2 separate regions of the Homo sapiens genome follow, and region 2 is linked to region 1. Evidence: promoter capture Hi-C in human tissues and cell types (Jung and others, 2019). All regions are on one chromosome and are shown on one strand. The core of a region is centred on a gene start or on the middle of the fragment in contact, and the rest is flanking DNA. Distances in the headings are between cores, read along the strand shown. Region 1 holds the start of C2orf15 (chromosome 2 open reading frame 15). Region 2 overlaps CRACDL (CRACD like).

Region 1 (5,106 bases), core at 462-2,961:
GGAGGCTGAGGCGGGTGGATCATGAGGTCAGGAGATCAAGACCATCCTGGCTAACACAGTGAAACCCTGTCTCTACTAAAAATACAAAAAACAAAAAACAAACAAAAAAAAAGCTGGGCGTAGTAGTGGGCGCCTGTAGTCCTAGCTACTTGGGAGGCTGAGGCAGGAGAATGGCATGAACCCGGGAGGCGGAGGTTGCAGTGAGCCGAGATCGTGCCACTGCACTCCAGCCTGGGCGACAGAGTGAGACTCTGTCTCAAAAAAAAAAAAAAAAAAAAAAAAAAGGTTTAGTTGGGGCAGGGTGGGACACTCACTACCCCTTGGGTTTCCACAGAGGGAAGGAAATTTTTACTTTCTCAGGTTAGGGGAGAAAGTCAACAGTTCTTGATAGGAAAAAAAAGGAAAATCTTTTCACCCTCTTTTGGCCTTAAAATGATCATTTCCTTATATTCTTTCCAAATAATCTTCAGTACCGTCTAGGTGGCATACATAAGTGCTTAAACTTTTCTTATTCTTTCTATAAGGGAAGTACTTTCCTACTTCCTATATTAATAATCTCCCCACCCCCGAAGTCTTCAACTCCAGCTGATAGTTTTAAACTTAGAACATTCTTTCCTATTTGTTTTTAATAATGCTAGATAATGTATTCAAAATAATCTTAGTATCTGAAGAGGAAATGAGATTATACATTATTCCCTCTAACATAACTTCTCAGTTTGTTATTTTGTGCATTTAAAAAATTACATTTCCGAGGATATGTGCTCCTTGTGTCCTCTAACCTCTTAATCTAAAATAACAGGGACACTTAATTTTTTTTGGTATCTAATTATACTTACAAAGTATATGATATCTGAAAATAAATGCGACAAAATATGAGACCATGTAATAACACGATGAAAAGACATTGGAAAAACATGGCATTTATATTAAATGTATTTTTATGACTAAATTTGTTCTACACAAAAGTTGTTTATCCCTGCCAATGATATCTTGTGGGGGGAAAAATGAGTACTCACCTGGCGAAAACAGGAATTGTTAGTCTCCTCAAACGAGAGCTTACTCTTGAAATACACAGCGTTCTACCATATCAAGGTCATCAGAGAATTGCTGTAAAAACCTAGTGTCTATGTCATCTGCAGGAAAAGGAGATAAAGTCACCATTATCATCCAGAAGCTCTTGAGTTATTTAAGAAGGGACATGGTAGGTATTAAGAAAAATTAAGAAGACTTTTTTCCCCCCCATTCTGGGCTCCAAAAAATTGGTAGAAGAATGCAGCGCTCATTCTTTTTCACTAAAAAGCTCATTTGTCACTTTAAGGTGAGGGGATTTGGAAAAGGACTGGCATGTGGAGAAGGAATATCGGTCAGGAATCTGGACTTTGTTGCTAGATCTGCCACTTCCTGATTCAGCCCTGATCGTGCAGAGCTGACCAAGGCCGTGGTCCCCAGGCTCCCCTGACTCCAGGCTGCCCACGCTCACCGGGACAGGCCGGCTCGCTCCCTGCAGGCTGCAGCGGGAGGGCTGGACCTGGAAGCCTCTCTTAAAACGGGCCCTGGCTGCAGCAGGAGCTGCGCCCGAAAGCAGCTCTGAGAGTAACCGGTTCACCGAACATGGGTCCAGAATGATGCCCAAGCCCTGGGAAAAGTGGCACAAAGCCACCGCCGCGAAGCAGCAGGTGTTTCAAGCTGAGGGAAGGCGGGGCTGCGAGAGACAGCCTTGCGCATGCGCGTTCCATCCAGGTGCGGCAGCCTCAGGCAGAGATTAAGAAATGAGTCGTGGAAAAGGGGGCTAGCGGCTGGTTACTAGGAGACGGGACGCTCGGCTCGGGCGTCTAGGCGCTGCGTGGGCGTGCGCCTGCGCGGCGCGGATGGGCCAGGAAGGGGTCCCTCCTAGGTGCCCTGTAAGGCAGGCAGGTAGACGTACGCGTCGCTCCGTGCGTAGGAGCGCGCGCACGGCTTGTAGACCCCGCGAGAAGGAAGGTCGAGCCAGGTACGCGTGCGCACCGGGCCTGGGGGCGAGCGGGACGGAAGCAAAGCTGGGGCGCCGGGGAGGTGGAAGACGAGCCCCACTCCGGTACAGAGCGTGAGGGCGGGGCCACGGCGGCACTGGCTGGCGCTAACCGCCCCCTCCTCCTTCCCGCGGGCTCCGTCCTTCCTCCGATCCGCCGGGGCGGGGCCAGGACGATTTGGGGGTGGGAAGGGAGGAGAAAGGGGCGGAGGATGGAGAGTGGGCGGTTCTTGTATCCCCCGCTGAGGCCGAGAGCTGACAGTCGCGGGGATGAGCTCTGGGCAGGACGGCGGGCCGAGGAGCCCGGGGAGGGACCCGGAGCTCCAGGTAGAAGCTGCGGAGGTGCGCGGGGTGGGGAGAGTGCTGCTACTGGACTGGAAGGTCTCTGAGAAGGCGGCTGCAAGCGGGCAGGAGTGGCGGGTGCGGGGCCGTGGCGGGCGGAGTTGGGCGCTAGCAGCGGGAGCGGCTGTGAGGGGCAGCGGCGGGCACAGCTGCCGGCCGGAAGCTCGGCAGCACGAGTTGCCCCTGTTTCTTGGGAGGTTAGGTTTGAGCCCAGTTCCTATGGTCACTGCTTCGCGTCCTCCCGCAGCTCTCCGCTTGGTTGTTGGGGAGACTGTTCAGTTTAGAAACGCTCTGGAAGCTCTGGTGGAGCCGAGGAATTTGGAAGTCACAGATTTGGGAGTTCAGCCTGACTCCCGATCGCTCATTTCTGAGCCTCTTTCTAGACTTGGGGTGGTGAAAGGCTGAGATTACATAGGCATTTGCATGAAAATCTCAGATAATTTTAGTAAAAATTATACACAGTAAAGGCAGGGAAAGCTGGCTTTTGTTGAAAAACTATTTGAGACTTAAATTGGATAACTAGGTGATCATGGACTTGATACCTAAAAACTCACAGAAATATGGTTTTTTTTCACTTTTTTTTTTTCGCAGCTTCGGGAAAGTTTGCATAGATTATAGTGTCCCAACGTTTTCCTTCTTCCATTCCAGGACCTTATATCCTAGGAGATTTCCTTGTTTAAAATTTTCTGTACTGGTGTTCAGCATTTCAAGTATACTTTGTTTACGTGTAAGGACATAAGTAGAATAACAATAGGTTTGTAAGTAGAAAAAAACAGGTTAGTTATAGAAGTAGGATGTCGCATTCGAATCTGCTTCCAGGATAAGACAGATTCTTGTTTGTATTTTAATTGATTAATGAGCCAAACTCTTCAGTCTTAATTAGTGGGAAATAACTAGGACGGTACATTAATTAAATATTAATTTTAAATCCTAAACTTTGGCATTATTTAATGGCAGCTTCCACAATATCTCGCGTACTGTTTACCTTCTGAAGAAAAATCACTGCCTGTAGCCCAGAATATAATCAGGTGTAGAGATTCTCTGGGAGATCTTTTCTGTCTTCTTTTTGAGTTGCTTAGACTAGTTTGTTTAGGACGATTTGGTTTTGAAGTCCTCCATACACAGAGGCAGTTAGAGGTATTACTATTTATCACCTTTTCAGATTACATATTTCTTTCCCTCCCCAGAGATAGCCACTCTCCTGACTTCTAAGATAGCCACTTCCTTGATTTTCCTTAATGTTTCACATCATTGTATGTGAACATGCACATTACAGTTTGGCTTGTTTTTGAACTTCGAATGGAATTGTACTAAGTATTCATTTACATCTTGCTTCTTTACTCAACATTTTTTTTAAGATTAATCTTTATTGTTGCTCGCAGTATTTAGTTTGCTGATTGTTTCCCAAAATATTTATCCACTTATTTTTATTATATAAAATACTCTCTCAGAATTATTCATAAATCTTGTATGGTTTTCCACATCCTTCTGTTAGTGAGGCAGTTCCTTTCTACTTCAATGTCTATAAGTCTACACTTTTGGAGACAATATTTTTAAAAAGAAAAACCCACCTCAACTGTAGTAAGCTTTTGTGGAACCAGATTTCAGAATTCCATTGAAGTACTCCAGTATTTTCCATTCTATCAAAAAATCAATAATTTGTTGAATACATATTATGTGCTTCATATTTTGCTCAACACCGATGATACTTTTTATTATATAATCTTAGCTCCTGTTTCACTGAAAAATTAAAATTCAACCAGACAGAAACTTCCTCAGATTTCCATGACACTTACCTTTTTTTTTTGAGACATGATCTCACTGTCGCTCAGGCTGGAGTGCAGTGGTGCGATCATGACTCATTGCAGCCTTGACCTCCCGGGCTCAAGTGATTCTCCTATCTCAGCCTCCCAAGTAGCTGGGACCACAGGTGGATGCCACTATGCCTGGCTAATTTATTTTTTAATTTTTGTAGATACAGGAACTCACTATGTTGTCCAGGCTGGTCTCAAATTCCTGGGCTCAAGTGATCCTCTGGCCTTGGCCTCCCAAAGTGTTGGGATTATTGGGATTACAAGTGTCTAAATCTTCACCTGTCCTTGCTTTTGTCTTTCTTGTGTCGGGGCAATACATCTTTATCTGGGTTTCCTCTTATTACCTCAGCTGTCTTTCTCCATCAATTAACATTAACTCATGCCTTAGGAATCTTCATTGTTTCTGTACTGTAGGGCTTCTTCACCTGGAGTCCAAGGACCTTATAGAGTCTTAAATCCCCTGAAATTGTTTGTAAAGGTGTATTTGCATTTTTCTGAGGAGAGGATGCAGGACTTTTAATTCTGAAAGAGGATCCTTATGTAAAGAGAATTAAGGAACAAGTTTTTCTCTTCCCATAATGACGTTTCCACAACCTTGGTTGTCTTCCACCTTTGTTGTACCTCTCTTCCTCTCACAATCATGCTTCCTAAAAGAAGTTTACATTTTCCATTTCTTTTTCTTTACTATTCATTCATTAGTCCCCTTCAGACTTGTTTTCACCCACCATTGAAACTGCTTTGTTCGAATCATTAAATTTTCTTATTTTGAAAATGTTTTATTGCGTTTCACCTTTGTGCTGGGCACTTTTAAGGCATTAGGGATAAAACAGAGACAAGACAAAAGCCTAGAGCTCTTGAATTTTATATTCTAGTATGGGGAGATAGTAAACAAGTCAGCAAATGATATAATTTCAAGTAGTGATAAGTGCAAATAGCTTATCA
Region 2 (4,429 bases), core at 1,795-4,294, 290 kb after region 1:
CGGACAGACATTCCTCTGTGACCCTGAACGTGTTTTCATCACTTACCTGGCAGTGGTTTGAGCCCATTGGGCGGTGGGGATCAGGAAGCACAGGGGTCAGCTGGAAAGCCAGGTGTTTGTCCTGTGACTGACAATGGTGACTTTGAAGTGAGCCATTTGCTTGGAAGACTGGCGCTTACCTGCTGCCAGGGCATGCCGGGCATGTGTGCTCTGGGAGCCTTTGTCCATAAACAGTATCACGTGGTGGTGAGGAGTGGGCTGCAGAAACCGACAGCAGGGCTCAGCTTGTGCTTGCTGCATGCCATGTCCTGGTTTCATTTGATTATAGTATTATTATCCTCCTTTTGCCTATGAGGATACTGAGGCCTGGCACTGGTAGGTGGTAGGGTGAAGATGCCACCCCGGGACTGCCTAACATTCAAGTTTTTGCCACCTTCCTCCACCCCATGTTATGCTCTTATCTGTATGAAGATGCTTGGGACATAAAACATGAGTAGGTTCTGAAACCTTCCATGTGACATGAGATCCATTTGTTGTCCCTTTGTCGGTGGGCAACCTTTGCCTCCTTGTGTGAGTCCACTGGTGGTCTTGGTGGTCTTGGTGGTCTGGGGGTGCTGTCTGCATCTTCTGGCTGAGAGTAGGGTGGAAGGACCTACACAGGTGAGTCTGCATCCCCTCCCATGCTCCCCCCTCCCCGGCCCTCCGCCTACATCTGCATCTGAACCCTCTGCCCCGTGCAGCTTTCTCACAACCATGTCCTTCAACCCAGGGAGAAGCAAGCCTGAGCCTCTGGACTGATCCGGGCTTGGCAGGAGGGGGTGCCCCTCTGCACACCCACCCACAGGGCTCATACACATTCTCACACACACCTCTGGCACTCACCTTGTTCTTCCCAACAAGGACACTTTTCATTTGCAAGGTGTCCACATGACCTTGATGTGTTGCGTAACATCATGGTTTCTCCAGAGTGTTAATCCTTTCCCAGTTAGCTGACACATCACAGTGGCCTCCGGTTCCTTTCCCCAGACGAAGAAACCCCATCAGACCCAGTGCATGATCTCTCGGGGCTCCTCCAGCCTCTGAGTTCTGGCCTGACCCTGGGTAAGGCTTCTTGGCAGGCAGAGCCATTTCAGTGGGAGATCCTGTCCTTTGGATTCTCCAGCTTCTCTTGAGCCCCACTGGGGACAGCTCAGGGCTCTGCCCTTCACTGGGTCAGCACCTGCAAGAGGTGGGAACCACGTGGGTCTCATCTGTCACTGTATCCCAGTGCCTCAGAAGCACCTGCCCATGCTGGGTATGCAGTCAGTGTGAGTGTAGACGCCATATCTGCTCTGCTACCTTAGGCAAGTTAATAAACCGCTTAATATCAGAAATGTTCTCTGCTGGGTGCAGTGGCTTACACCTGTAATCCCAAGCACTTTGGGAGGCCAAGGCAAGCAGATTGCTTGAGCTCAAGAGTTCAAGACCAGCCTGGCCAACATGGCGAAACCCCGTTTCTACAAAAAATACAAAAAATTAGCCAAGTGTGGTGGCGTGGGCCTGTGTTCCCAGCTATTTGTGGGGGGGCTGAGGTGGGAGGATCTCTTGAGCCCAGGAGGTTGAGGATGCAGTGAGCTAAAAATGTTCTCATCTCCAAAATGGGAATATTAAAAGTTCTTGGGGATTAAATGAGATAATTCAGGTGATAGCTGCATGCTTGATAAGTAATTTGCAGTTGCCATGGTTAACTCCAAATTCAGGCAATGGAAAACTCTTGCACTGAGCTAGAGCTCAGTGGCAGCCTCAGGAGATGGCACTGAGGGGAACAGATGGTGACTCCTAGGCCACCCTCACCATCTTCACTCTTCCCCTTACACCGTATGTTTTCCTTCTCCATTGCCTCTTCCATTGAATCCCCGGCAGCTACCACCTCTAAAGGACTCTTGGGGATGAGGGGGTTGCTGACTGACTAACATATTGCAGGGGGGATTGAGGGGGTGACCTTTGGAACACCTGGGCCTTTGGGTTGGGCCATCAGCCTAGAACTACTATCATTCTGCTGTTTGATAGCATTGTCTGTTGCTTTGAATGTGAACACAGATGATGAAAGCAAGGATGTCCTTTGAAGCCTAAAACAGTGGTAAAGGATTTGAAAAATACTGTTTCTGTCCAACCCTCATTTTATAGATAATGATAGCATGATCATGAGTCAAATCTGGTGAGGTTCCAAGAGTTTTTGGCAGAGCCGACACAAGACCGGACATTTTTTTGAAGCCAAATTGTATGAACATTGAGAGCTGGAGCTGGTGAAACTTTGTTCAGCTTTTGAGGGATTGGCTGGTAGGGAGGATGAACATTAGAAGAAATCGAAATATTAGAGCCAACTCGGGCACACACCCGCAAATCCTTTTCTCTGTTTGTGTTTTCTTTGCATTTCTCCCATCATTTCCCATTCTGTGCTGTGTACAAGTGGTAAACGTGAATTGGTTAAATATTCAAGCCCCCCTTTTTAAGTGTGAGGATTCGTCATACCTAACAGTAAGAAATAGCTTTCTAAATAAATGGTGTGATAGTATATGGAGGTAGAGCATACTGTAACAGTCAGTTATGGAAGGCATGGACACCACTAGCTCAGTATTCTGTAGCAGGAATATTGACCTGTGATCATGCATTTGGTTTCCATGAAGAGTGAGGGATTTTTTTATTCAGGAAGCAGCTGAATTTATATGGATTAAATGATCATCATGTCTGGGATGATTTGCTTAGAAATCACCTCATAGGAGTGGGATGGGGTGTGGGGGTAAAGATGAAGCAAGATTAGCCATACCTTGAGTTCATTATATGTTGTTCATATTTTTGTATCTGTTTGACATTTTTCATTGCATTCAAAAAAGAATTTCAATGTAAATAAATAATGGTACAGTAGTATATCAAAATATTAGGTAGCCATTAAAATAACACGTGAATAATTTTAATGATGTGGTGTAAGTAAGAAAATCAGGAAGTCAAGCTTCCTAATATGATATGTGTGCATGTGGATAAAATATTTGCGTAAAAAATTATTGGAAGGAAATGAAAACATTAACTGTGGTTATCCTTGGTTGGTTGGATTATGGGTGATTTTCATTCTATTTTCCAAACTTCCTGTAGTAAACAAGAGAAAAAAATCATTTCTTATAATTTGAGAAAAGCTTTTTTGAAAGAAACCTAATCTGCAGTGTGTAAATTAGTGAAGCATTTGTTTCAGTGATCTGTTTTCCATTAAATTGCCCCAGTCAGTGATTAAACGCTTATGCGGTTACTGATCTTGTGGCTGTGGATATGGTTTTGGCCTGTACTGTGCTGCACTCTGCCCTGGACTGTCTTTGCTGGGGTGTGTGCAGGCCAGATCATGGCAAATGCAGTCACGAACACCATTTCACTCATTGGTAACTTCTGCTAACCATGTTTCTTTAACGTGAATTTCCATATAATTTCAGCGAGCTTGACATGATTTCCACAAGGGTGATGGACATTAAGCTTCGGGAGGCTGCAGAAGGCCTTGGGGAGGACAGCACAGGTAAGGCCCTGCTTCCCCTGCTCTGGGGAGGGCACTTGCTTTGTTGTGGGGCAGGGAGAGGGACTGACAGAGGCAGGCCTTTGGGGCTTTCTGTATGAAAAGTGGGGATTTAGTTCCCAGTGTGCTCAGATACCCCCAGGCCCTTCACGCTGTGACTGGGGGCACATGCACATTATTTAAGGCTGCTCGGGGCAGATTTCCTCTGCTTCTGTGTCAAGCACGGGGACCTTTCAGCTCATTTTCCTCCTTTCTGGAGGTAAGCATGTCCCCATGTTTGGCTGACTTGAATGCAAAGGAAGAGGTACTAAATGGATTCATTCACCATCTAAGAATATCCAAAGGCATCAGTAGGAAGCTGAGCAAAGTACCTGATAGCCTGATCATCTGTAAAAAAATAATTACATCAGGAGAGAGCCTTTGATCCCTCTCCTTCATGACTTTTGTTCTGAAGGAGATCTTTAGTATGTTGTCTGCTGAGCTGAGTTCTAGGCCCATGAATCACCATCTCATAAGACTTTCTAAGAGTTCTCCAATTATGTCATTGGTTTACTGTTATCCAAATATTGCTATTTATGTCCTGATAGAGTTGTAAAATTGACATTAAAAAATTAATCTCCCCACAATGTACCTTTTCTCTAGATTTGCCATTCATATACTCCCTTTATTTTGGTGACCAAGGCCTCCATCTCTCTCTTATTTACACTGAAAATGCCAGTAGTGATTTTCTTTGATATAGTTCAGGAGAAACAGCTCCCAATAATATTAAATCCTAGCTGCTAGCCACTAGCTTCAGATACTAATTTCAGCAAATACTCCATTTCAGATATTAAAGATAGATTTTTTCTTATTATTTCATATTAGAACCATTTTTCCTCTGTCACATTTCAATGG

What was found. The method cuts DNA at HindIII sites, captures the fragments that hold promoters and counts their contacts. A contact is called where the count stands out against the background at its distance.
Region 2: a contact is called between a fragment that was not itself captured here and the fragment with the promoter of C2orf15 in region 1, in 1 of the 25 tissues and cell types used here (hippocampus).

Annotation. Positions count from the first base shown.
Region 1 is chr2:99,138,312-99,143,417 of GRCh38, reverse strand. It overlaps C2orf15 (chromosome 2 open reading frame 15), which reads right to left and starts at 1,711. Exons shown (of 4, transcript NM_144706.4): 1 at 1,481-1,711; 2 at 1,017-1,133. The region is part of intron 1 of TSGA10 (testis specific 10); the gene reads left to right. RefSeq lists an enhancer at 974-1,780 and silencers at 2,002-2,311, 2,382-2,451. The HindIII fragment of the contact is 7,971 bases long and covers 1-5,106 here.
Region 2 is chr2:98,845,840-98,850,268 of GRCh38, reverse strand. CRACDL (CRACD like) reads left to right here. Exons shown (of 10, transcript NM_207362.3): 2 at 3,459-3,538. The coding sequence starts at 3,469. Among named protein-coding and RNA genes, the nearest start is that of LINC02611, 76 kb to the right of the region's middle. The HindIII fragment of the contact is 3,881 bases long and covers 1,104-4,429 here.